2 separate regions of the Homo sapiens genome follow, and region 2 is linked to region 1. Evidence: promoter capture Hi-C in 16 types of primary human blood cells and fetal thymus (Javierre and others, 2016). All regions are on one chromosome and are shown on one strand. Each heading gives the region's core, a stretch centred on a gene start or on the middle of the fragment in contact. The rest is flanking DNA. Distances are from core to core; before and after follow the strand shown. Region 1 holds the start of CNKSR3 (CNKSR family member 3). Region 2 overlaps SCAF8 (SR-related CTD associated factor 8).

Region 1 (5,525 bases), core at 2,451-4,950:
AGTAGGTGAGGTTTTTGAATATTTATCTAATTGACATTGATCTTTGAGTTAGAGATAGGGCTCAGTAAAAGAAAGCCAAATACCAGCTTTCCAACTGTAGAATGACTTAACGTTCCTGAATGATCAGAAGAATTTGAATAAGTGAGGCAGCACTTGAAAAATAAAATATAATAAAGTTTGAAGTCTTTACTACCTGAATTATCTGATAGGGAACCTGGCATGTTCAGGGAGATAACTACATTACCGTGGTGTGAAGAATTCAGACCAAATGGAATTAAATGAAAGACAAGAACATGAGCAGTCTGGATAATTTAGTTAACCAGTGATGACTTTGCACTGATGTAATGTCATAGATAAGAATGCTTAGCTCTAACTGTAGGATATTTTCCAGGCAGAAAACTGCAGACGTTTTTGGTATCTCTCAAGATAAAAGATAACTTAAGAACATACACGAGACAATTATATGTGAAAAAATTAAATAATTTTGAATTTTCTGAAAATAGTTAAAAAGAAATGTGAGGGAAAGAAAATAAGAGAAGAACCTCAGATTGCGAAATAAAGTTGAATATTTAGAGCAACTTGCTTTCTTTCTTTCTTTTATTCTGGAAAACATTACATTGTTTTTAACTGGGGAAGGAGACTGGCTTTTTGCAGATTAATAATTTGCTTAAAAGTTTGCTTAATTTGCTCCTCTGTGTTTATCAAATTATAGGTATAACCACCAATCCAAAATACTCCATCCCTTGCTCTCACATAAAGAAGTAATAAATTTTGAACAAGCTTAAAACGTTAATATCACATTGGTCCTCGAACTCCCTTGTTTGTGTTTATTTACCAGGTCACTTTCCTTGGATGAAAGACTACAGAAGAAATCCACCTTTAGAAAGTCACATGGTGTTTTTGATCTAAAAGGCTACTCATCATTTCTGAATCCTCCTAGTGCTTAGTTTAGTGAGTACCTAATACGTATTTCATCAACTGAATAAATGACTTAAACATGCAAGAAGGGTCAAAGTCAGAAAAACGGAAGAGCTGGAAAGAAATCTAGAAGATCTGGGTTCTAGTATCTGTTCTACATATTAATTCAATTTTAAAAAGGCTTATTGAACTCCTTGTATGTGCGAGGAATTGTAGTAAACATTAAGACACAAATGAAGAGTTCTGATCTGGAAGATGGCATAGCTGCAGTTTGGTAATGTGCGTGAACATATGGTGTAATAGCTACAGATTTTAGCTAGCAGAGAAGAAAAGTTAGCAAATTTACAAATTATCCTTTTATATATACTTAATTTTTAAAGCCATTTACTTAAGATTCTGCCTTTATTAGCTTTGTATGCCATTAATAGCTTTGTATGTCCTCAAGTTTGCATTTCAGCTAGGAAGGCAGGCCTCCCTAAAACTTTCACGTGCTAACAGCTGTAATTAAGGTAGAAGGCTTTATTTAAATAGTAATTAGCTTCCAGAAGTTGAAGTGTAAACAGAATGCTAATTCATTTAGATAGTTAATTGGTCTTCCGGGTTAGAGATCTTAGCGTGGCCTTCCTCTTTAGCTATGCTGTATTTATGTACCAAGTATAGATAGTGTGTTGGCTCCGTGGGATGTTTTGCAAACTCTTGCTTGACTCGCAGAATTTTAGTGTTTTAGCTCTTCTGGTAAAGACTACTGCCAATGAATCTGAAGACGTGAAAACATCAAGTAAAATTCCACGGCAAAATCATTAATATTTGACCTTTCTTTTATAATTGTGGGGACCGTATGGCCCAGTTTATTCATGTTATTCCAATGTAATTCTTGATAGTTGCTTCTTTCATGCTCAAGAATATTTTGATTTGGAGGTAAGTTATGTGGTCACCCTAATCATAATCAGAAATCACACAACAGGCAGTGATTGCTGAAACAAAAGGTGTGCATCAGGTTGGTTACCCTTTCCAGTGAACCAGTGTCAAGGTCCTTCTCTCTGCTGACTGCTGTAAAGATGGTTAATGCTGGATGTCATTAAGTTTAAAGGTCTTTTTTTTTTTTTAAGGACAACTACTATATCAGGAATTTTGTCATTGCCTTTGCCAACTTGTGTGGTCTGCCAGTCACTTTCGCTAGATGAAGAAAAAGAATCACTATATTTGATAGTTGTGTGTCTCTGTGTTGCCCAGTCCTCTAGGGGAGTTGAATGGGAGGTGGGTCTGATGTTTTGCTTTTTAAAAATGTTTCTTTTGCTTGGATGCTCCAGCTCATCAGATGCTAGGCTGGCTGCTAGCTATTTTTCCACATGTGCGTCCAAACAGACCTGTGTAAGTAGCACATATCACACGAATTCAACAAATACTGAATGAATACAGTGGCTGGCACATAGGAAGCATTCCCGGATATTTACTGAATGAATAAATACCAACCTTGCCTTTGGTCCCGTGCTGGGTGCTACAAGTTAGGTGGTAGGAAGAAAGGGAGGAGAGAAAACTCTATATGAGATCAAGTAGGTTCTGCCCTCAAGGGGTTAATAGTCTCCAAGAGGAAGATGTAAATAAATAACCGTAATTGAAAGTAAGAATCATTCAGTGCCAAAAAGAGTGGGAGGAAGAGGTTGCTGGGCGGGGCGGGGCGGGGGTGGGGGGTTGGGGGGGGTGTTGGGGGGTGAGGGGAGGGGTGGTGGCGAGGGTGGCAGGGGTTGGGGGGGCGGTTAGGATGCAGGGAGAACTTGAAGGAGAGGCAGGCATTCAAATTAGATTTTCCCCCAGTTTAGCATTAACTCTGGCCCCAGTTGCAGTCCATGAATGTGGAAGGGCCCTCCCCTGCCAGGCGCTGAAATTGTGCACGAGCTATTTTTTTTTTCTTGGCTAACAGCTTTCCTCTCACGGTTAATGACTAATCCCAAGGAGCATTAGCTCACTCTGTAAATATGAAATTATAATATAGCAAAATATAACGCTAAAAGCCATCAATCTAATTTTAGTCGCAAAGTTGAAATTTCATAGCAATAGCATTAAAAGAGTTACATTGTTACGATTTCAGTCAACATATAAATGAAATAAAATTGTTCTGGCCTGGCGCGGTGGCTCAGGCCTGTAATCCTAGCACTTCGGGAGGCCGAGGCTGGCGGATCACCTGAGTTCAGGATTTCGAGACCAGTCTGGCCAACATGGTGAAACCCTGTCTCTACTAAAAATACAAAAATTAGCCGGGCGTAGTGGCAGACGCCTGTAATCCCAGCTACTCCGGAGGCTGAGGCGGGAGAATCGCTGGAACCTGGGAGGCAGAGGCTGCAGTGAGCTGAGATCGCGCCACTGCACTCCAGCCTGGGCGACAGAGCGAGGCTCCATCTAAAAAAAAAAATTGTTCTACTTTAAGAAACCTAAAATGACGGCTTAATGGCAGAGTAGTATTACGATATAAAGCATTTAAAATGAACAGAACATGCAGATCTTACTTTTTTTTTTCTTTTCTTTTTTTTTTAGTGTATTGTTGCTCACAGCGAGACAGAGTGTTCTGCTACCCACAGGGCCAGGGCCTCACACAAACCAGCGGGCTCTCCAGGGTGCGCGCGCGATCTACAACCCGCCCCTTGAAAAGGAAAGCGGGGCCCGGGACGCTGCGGGTGTGAGCCGGACCGGCTTAGAGAGGGAAAGTAACCCGAGTCCGCCGCTTCGGGCGGACCCGCCCCCTCCCACGAGTTTCCCTAGACCCTCGGCCCCGCCCTCTCTTTTATTCGGTTTGCAGCAACCGGAGCTGAAACTTTGCAACCCGAGCGCGCACGCTCTGCGCTCGGCCCTGCCAGGGCGGCACGGGAGGGCGGCGCAGGAGGTGGGACCTGCGCCGGGAAGGCTCCGGGACGCCAGCGCACGCGGAGCGGGGACCCCGGAGAGCCAGCAGGCGAGAAGACCGGCCGAGGGAGAGCCGATCGCGCCTCGAGAGATCCGAGGAAGTGGTCGCGGGCCGGGAGGCTCCCGTGCCGAGCCGAGGCCAGGGGTCTGGGGTCGCAGCCCGGCGTGCCTGCAGCTGCCGTCGCTCGGGAGCAGCAGCTGTGCCCGGGATCCCGGCGGCGGCGGGGGAAGGAGGAGCTGCAGCTGGACTGTGGCAGCTGGAGGGAGAGGGCCGGGCTCCCCTGGCGGAGCCGCGCTGGGACGACTGGCTGACCGCGGCCATGCAGTCTTGACGGAGTCGCTCGGGCGCAGGGGAGCAGCCGCGGGCGCGCCCTCCCGGGAAGGGGCACCGGAGCGCAGGCAGCAGCACTTTATCTGCGACTCTCCAGCCCAGCGAGAGGCGAAGCGGTTTACCATGGAACCCGTGACCAAGTGGAGCCCCAAACAAGTGGTGGACTGGACTAGAGGTGCGCGGGCCTTGGGGGGGTCCGGAGTCCTCCAGCCTCGGGGATGGGGCGGACGAGGAGCTGGGGAAGAGGGTACTTGGCCCTTCCTCCCGGCGAGAAGCGGTGAGGGCACAGCCCGGTGACAATGCAAACTTCTGCCGAGTGGCCTGTGCGCTCCTATCTCTCGTACCTGCTCCGAGCTCTTCCTTTCCAGGGTGCGGATTGTGGCAAGCCGAGGGGAGCCCTATCTTTAAACCAGGGAGTAGGGGTGGCCTTTCTGTGGCGGTTGAGGGCTGGGGATGCCGATCTCGGGACTCGGCACTCGGGCCGGGGGGCGCTCTCCCTGCCTGGCCCCGGTGCGGTGCCCGGCGACCCGGGGGCCCGAGTGCAGAGGCACAAGGTGCCTTTGTGTGGGTGACTCCCGCGGGACCTCGTCCATGCCGCCTGCCCAGAGCCGTCCGCAGGCGTGACAGGGCTGTCGGACAGGTAGAGGGAGACTCCGGCGGGTCCGCCGAGCCTGTCTGTTTTTGTTGGAGAAGGCGAGAGGGCCGCGCAAAAGCCAACACCATAGCATTTGCGCCAGGGAGAAACCTCGAGCCAGGACTCCCCGGGAGGCAGTGACTTTTGCTCCGGGAGGCGCCAGTATCCCCGGTGGCGCTGCATTTTCAGGCCACATGTAAGCACTGGGAAGGAGAAATATAATTGTTTGGAACCACTGTCTTGATTCATACAATATTTGGGATGAGGAAGGCAGTGGGGCTGGGGCGGTGGGGGGGTGGTGGGGGGAATGAGCAGAGGTAGAAGCTTGTCCTCCTAGCTGGCTCGCTTACTTTTCAATGTCTCCTACGATTTCGAGGGAAAGGTACTAGAGTTTACTCAACCCTTTTCTGTACTTTCAAGAGAACAAAGTCCACCAAGAACAATCTGTATTTTCATGGTTTCCCCCCACCCCCAACGACATCTCTGTTTCAAGTTACTATTTGTTTTTCTATCTGCTCTTCCAGGTGAGGAATGGTGTTCTTTCTCAGTAATAACTAGAATTGTGTAGCGCTTTACAGTTTGCTAAGAGCTCTCTCTGTTATTGTCCTTGGTCATCACAGTAAGCCTGTGAGGTAGGTAATACTGGTAAGACCAGGTCGTCTTTCAAACCGTCCCACCCATGGCTGCAGCATAATGAAAACTGATCACCGCTACATCTCATTTCTCACGCCTGTGACTTACACA
Region 2 (5,514 bases), core at 872-3,371, 280 kb before region 1:
GCATGTATAAAATTTCAGATTAGTACATTACTTCAAGTGGTAGTCTAAGGTACCTATTTTAAAAATCAATTATGACAGGTCATTTAAAAGAAGCATTCTAGGCCAGGCGCGGTGGCTCACGCCTGTAATCCCAGCACTTTGGGAGGCCAAGGCAGGCGGATCACGAGGTCAGGAGATCGAGACCATCCTGGCTAACACGGTGAAACCCTGTCTCCAATAAAAATACAACAAATTAGCTGGGCAGGGTGGCATAAGCCTGTAGTCCCAGCTACTCAGGAGGCTGAGGCAGGAGAATGGCGTGAACCTGGGAGGCAGAGTTTGCAGAGAGCCAAGGTCGCACCACTGCACTCCAGCCTGGGTGAAAGAGCAAGACTCCGTCTCAAAAAAAAAAAAAAAAAAATTAGAAGCATTCTTTTGCCTGCACAGAATTATTAAAGTACTAAGGTAATTAAAAACAAAAATCAAAAACTTTCTGTCTCAAGGAGTATATTCAAGAATAGTTCACAAAGAATACAGCATAATAAATTTATCTCTGGCCGGGCACAGTGGCTCACACTTGTAATTCCAACATTTTGGGAGGCCATGGTGGGCGGATCACAAGGTCAGGAATTTGAGACCAGCCTACCCAACATGGCAAAACTCCATCTCTACTAAAAATACAAAAAAAAATTAGCCGAGTGTGGTGGCGGGCGCCTGTAATCCCAGCTACTCAGGAGGCTGAGGCAGGAGAATCACTTGAACCCGGGAGGCAGAGGTAGCAGTGAGCCAAGATCATGCCATTGCACTCCAGCCTGGGCGACAAGAGCAAGACTCCATCTCAAAAAAATAAATAAATTTATCGCCATAGCTATCCATTATAACAAGATTTTTTTCTGATTCAAGACTATATAATAGTTATGAAAAATAACTACTTAATCTTGTTATACTCAATATAAAGGTGAATAATTTGTGGTGAGCTTTCAAGTTTTGTGGTTCTTCCATAAAACAAACATGAATCTTCATCTATTCTCATCTTTTCATACTTAAATCAACACTGCAATCAACCCTGTCAGAAAAAGCACACCTAAATTTCCAACATCCAAAATAAATAAGCTAACCTCTCAGAGCAAATAAAAGGATAAGCAACTCCTTTTTATGCTCGCTCATGATCCAAAGCTTTTTTACTTGCTATTTATAGAATATTTACACATTTGGATCTTACACATACCAGACTTAGTAGTGTGATTAATAAAATTCTACCATAATAGAAGAATTTTAATATGCAGTTAAATATCAACTCATGTCAAATAATCACAATTCTGAATTGACTGTGTGTGTGAATAAGTTTCATGTAATTCCAAAAGCTTATTTTAGCCATTTTATTTAACACCAATTGCTTCAACAAATTAAAAAGTAGCAAATCTGCTACATCTTTCTATACTCTCTGTTTGAGAAATTCAAAGAACAAAATGCAATATGGATACCGTAATAATTAAATATTCAAATTTGAAATAACTAAGAGCAAATGAGAATATACAGTCCTGTGCCACTTAACGACAAGGATATGTTCTGAGAAATGGCGTCATTAGGAGATTTCATCATTGTGTGATGTGTACTTACACAAACCTAGACGGTATAGCCTACTACACACCTAGACTATATGGCATATTCCATTGCTCCTAGACTACAAACATGTACAGCATGTCACTGTACTGCATACTGTAGGCAATTTTAACACAGTGGTATTTCTGTACATAAATGAGAAATGGTAAAATAAAAATATGGTATTACAATCTTAGGAGACCACCACTGTATATGCGGTCTGTCATTGAAACATCATTATGTGGCACATGACTGTACTAAGATAATCTGAAGACTAATTAAGACCAAGAGGCTACTGTATCTACTTTTAAAAAAACAAAAAAAAAAAACCAGTAGCATACCTTGTCATCCCCAGGGCAACGATATAAATTCTGGAAAGTGCTAATGATGTTATTACTAAATCTGGGTGCAAACACATCCTTTTCTTGACCAAACTGATGTCGGGATTGTCGCACAATGGAGTCAATAACATAAAGTCCAGGTACTTTGTATTCTGGTTTACACTGATGAAAAAAAGAAGAATGAAAAGGAAAGGAAACGGAAAGGTAAAATTCTTGATAGACAAAAATCATCAAAAATCCTGTGTAAATACAAAGACATTGCCTATGCTATGGTAATGAATATTCATACATTGACTACTCCAATATCATCAGTTTCTGGAATGGCATTTTAAAGAATCTACTTTGGCTACTCTATACAATCAGAAGTTCTAAAATAGTACTATGTAACTGGCTTCAATGACATAAAACAAAGTGATAAATAAGGTACCATTATAATTTTTAAAATTTGTTTAACCACTGTGAAAAGCTACATGGAAGAAAGAAGCAAATTCAGGAAAGAAGGGCTCTAGCAAACACACTGCCAACATGCCTCAGACTTCATCTGGAACACACAACAAAAGGGTTCCTACGCAAATGAAAAGAACAATGCCAAATGGCAAATTATAACATTGTTAAATACAGAGGCCAGAGTTTCCATTTTTTTTCTCAAATATAACATCTATAATCCTGGGGATCTATCCTATGTCATCCAGCCTGGAGTGCAGTGGTGCCATCATGGCTCACTACAACCCCGACCTCTCAGGCTCAAATGATCTTCCATCTCAGCCTTCCAAATAGCTGTGACCACAGGTGCACAGCACCATGCCCAGCTAATTCCTGTATGTTTTTTTGGAAGAGACTTGGTTTCACCATGTTGCCCAGGCTAGTCTCAAACTCCTGGGCTCAAGCAATCCTCCTGCCTAGATCTCCCAAAGTGCTGGAAATACAGGCACGAGCCACCGTGCCCTGCCTCCCCTACTTTCTCAACACAAGCTTTTTTAGCCTATGTAGTTAGGGAAGCACAATGAAGAATCCTTTTACTTGCAAGCTTACTGCACAGTATCTTTAGATACACATACATTAACATTTTGTGGGACAGAATTTCCTTCACTGGTACATTAGCATTTTTGCTACATAAAATGGCAAAAAAAGTTCTTTAGTATGATTTAATGTTTTAAATAATTTTAATACTTGGAAAACTTGGCTAAGTCATCAACTAGAAACCTGAGAGAAGAATCAAGACAAAGAAATCTGAAATACTTTAAAATTTTCCTCTTTACGTACCATTAGACTCAAAACAAGAATTCCTAAGACTCTCTAATTGAAACCGCCTTTGCAAAAATTGTAACTGAGGAAGTTATGACAGTGAAAGCGAGCAGACCTAACCAACTCCATCTTGCTTCTAACCTTCAAGCTGTCCTTGTCATTCCTGGGCCTGGGCCGAACTAACCTTGGGAGGGAATTTAGTTTACGGTTTGACTCAGAAACAAAATATTTAATAATAGCCCTTTCCCAAAAAGACCCTCTTCTTGCCTGGGTACCAGTCTGCCTTTGTAAGACTAACAAATTAGCTACAAGATTAGAAATTACAGTTTAGGGTCACGCAGCCTCTGGCTGCAAGAGTCTGAACCTCCCCAAATTGCTCCTGAGTATAACATCACTATCTTAAAAGATCAGTGCTTGAGATATTTTGCAGACCTTTCACTGGATGGATCAGCTGATGTCACCCAGGCTGGTAATCTGGCTCAACCAGTTCTGCGATCCCACCCAAGAAGAGAAGACAGCAAGAAAACCTCACTTGGACCTCCCTATGATTCCATCTCCAACCTGACCAACAGCACTCCCCACTTCCCGAGCCCCTACCCACCAAATTATCTTTAAAAACTCTGATCCAACCCCGAATGCTCTTGGAGACTGATTTGAGTAATAATAAAACTCCAGTCTCCTGCACAGCCGGCTTTGCGTGAATTACTCATTCTCCATTGCAATTCTCCTGTCTTGATAAATTGGCTCTGTCTAGGCAGCAGGCAAGGTGAACCCACTGGGCAGTTATACAATGGCATACGGTATTTTTACTCTAAATAATTTCCTAAAGCGTATCACATTAAGTTTTTATAGATATACCATTTTTCAACTATATTCTAGTAATTTCCAATTTCTTATTTTATAGAGAAATAGCCTTTTTAGGGGGAGAAAGGTAAGAACGAATAGGGAGAATGCACCTTTAAGTATATTTGCATGATTTTTCATTTTGTCATCCAAGTTGTCATCTGCAGGTTATCATCAGTTATGGTTATTTGTCAAAGAACCTTCTAGGTAAGTTGGACCATATATTTTGCAATATACAAATACACCTTAATTATCCTATTTTTAGAATTTGTGCTCCCACCTGCAGCTACTAAAAAGTGATATTAATTTAAAGACAACAAAGCTAGAGTGGTAGAAACAGAATCATGTGGCTGTACCTGCAAAGCACTGAATAATACTAATGGTGGCATGTAAGAAAGATGGCTCGACAGATTAGAAAAATTTAAATCTAACAATACCAAGTGCTGACAAAAATGGGGAGCACCACAAACCCATGCATTGCGAGGAAGAGAGTAAATCAGTACAATCATTATAAAACTAATTTAGTATTATCTAGCCATGGTGAAGAAATGCATATCCTGTAACCAGCAATTCCACTCCTACAGAAATGCAAGCTGTATGAGGATATTTATTACCTTACATATGTAAATATTACACTGTTCACAGCAATACTGTTCAGAATTGCAAAAACTAGAAAACACACACAATGTCAACAGAAGTGGGCAAGCTGCCGTCTATTCACATAATGGAAAATATACAGCAACAGATAGTAATGAATACTGCTACACACCACAAGAATGAATCCTAGACACATGATGTTGAGTAGGAGAACTGTATAAAAAGAATACATACCATAGGATTACATTAAAAAATTTAAAATACATTAAACCACTTTAAGAATTCATTTTATACAAAGTAAAACTATAATGTCAAGCAAGGACGTGACACAAAATTCAAACTGGTTACCTGGGTAGGGGGTATGCAAGACATGATTAGGAAGAGGCACTTGGGGCTTGTGGGCTTCAAAGTTCTACTTCTTGAAATGAGTGGGAGCTACATAGGTCTTCTCTTTATAAAAATTTGGCTGTATATGTTGTTTTCTGTACTTTTCTACAGATGTACATAGAAATTTCAGAATAAAAAGAAATACAGTTGTCCTTCAGTAGCCTTGGGGGATTCGTTCCAAGACCCCTGAAGATACCAAAATCCGAGGATGCTCACGTCCCTTATATAAAATGGGCAGTATTTGCATATAACCTACGGACATCATCCCATCTACTTTAAATCAGCTCTAGATTACTGTGAATACCTAATACAATGCCTACACATCACTTCATTCACATTCTACTCAGTGTATAGGAAATTCAAGTTTTGCTTTCTGGAATTTCGTGGAATATTTTTTCCCCAAATTTTGATCCCAATAGGCTGAACCCATGGGTTGGAACCCACAGAAACGGAAGAGTGACTGTAATTATATAAACATCCCTGGTTTCTTAAATAAAGCAAGAGGCAAAAGTTTCTCTAA

What was found. Contacts are between HindIII fragments. The CHiCAGO score rates a contact against its expected background, and 5 or more counts as called.
Region 2: a fragment that was not itself captured here is called in contact with the fragment with the promoter of CNKSR3 in region 1 in 1 of 17 cell types (erythroblasts); the score reaches 5.0 in erythroblasts.

The regions. Positions count from the first base shown.
Region 1 is chr6:154,508,860-154,514,384 of GRCh38, reverse strand. It overlaps CNKSR3 (CNKSR family member 3), which reads left to right and starts at 3,700. Exons shown (of 13, transcript NM_173515.4): 1 at 3,700-4,322. The coding sequence starts at 4,271. LOC101928868 (a long non-coding RNA gene) reads right to left here and starts at 3,594. Exons shown (of 2, transcript XR_001744422.2): 1 at 3,423-3,594. RefSeq lists a cis regulatory region at 201-441. The HindIII fragment of the contact is 4,325 bases long and covers 783-5,107 here.
Region 2 is chr6:154,784,431-154,789,944 of GRCh38, reverse strand. It overlaps SCAF8 (SR-related CTD associated factor 8), which reads right to left. Exons shown (of 20, transcript NM_014892.5): 4 at 1,923-2,084. Among named protein-coding and RNA genes, the nearest start is that of SCAF8, 54 kb to the right of the region's middle. The HindIII fragment of the contact is 1,551 bases long and covers 1,346-2,896 here.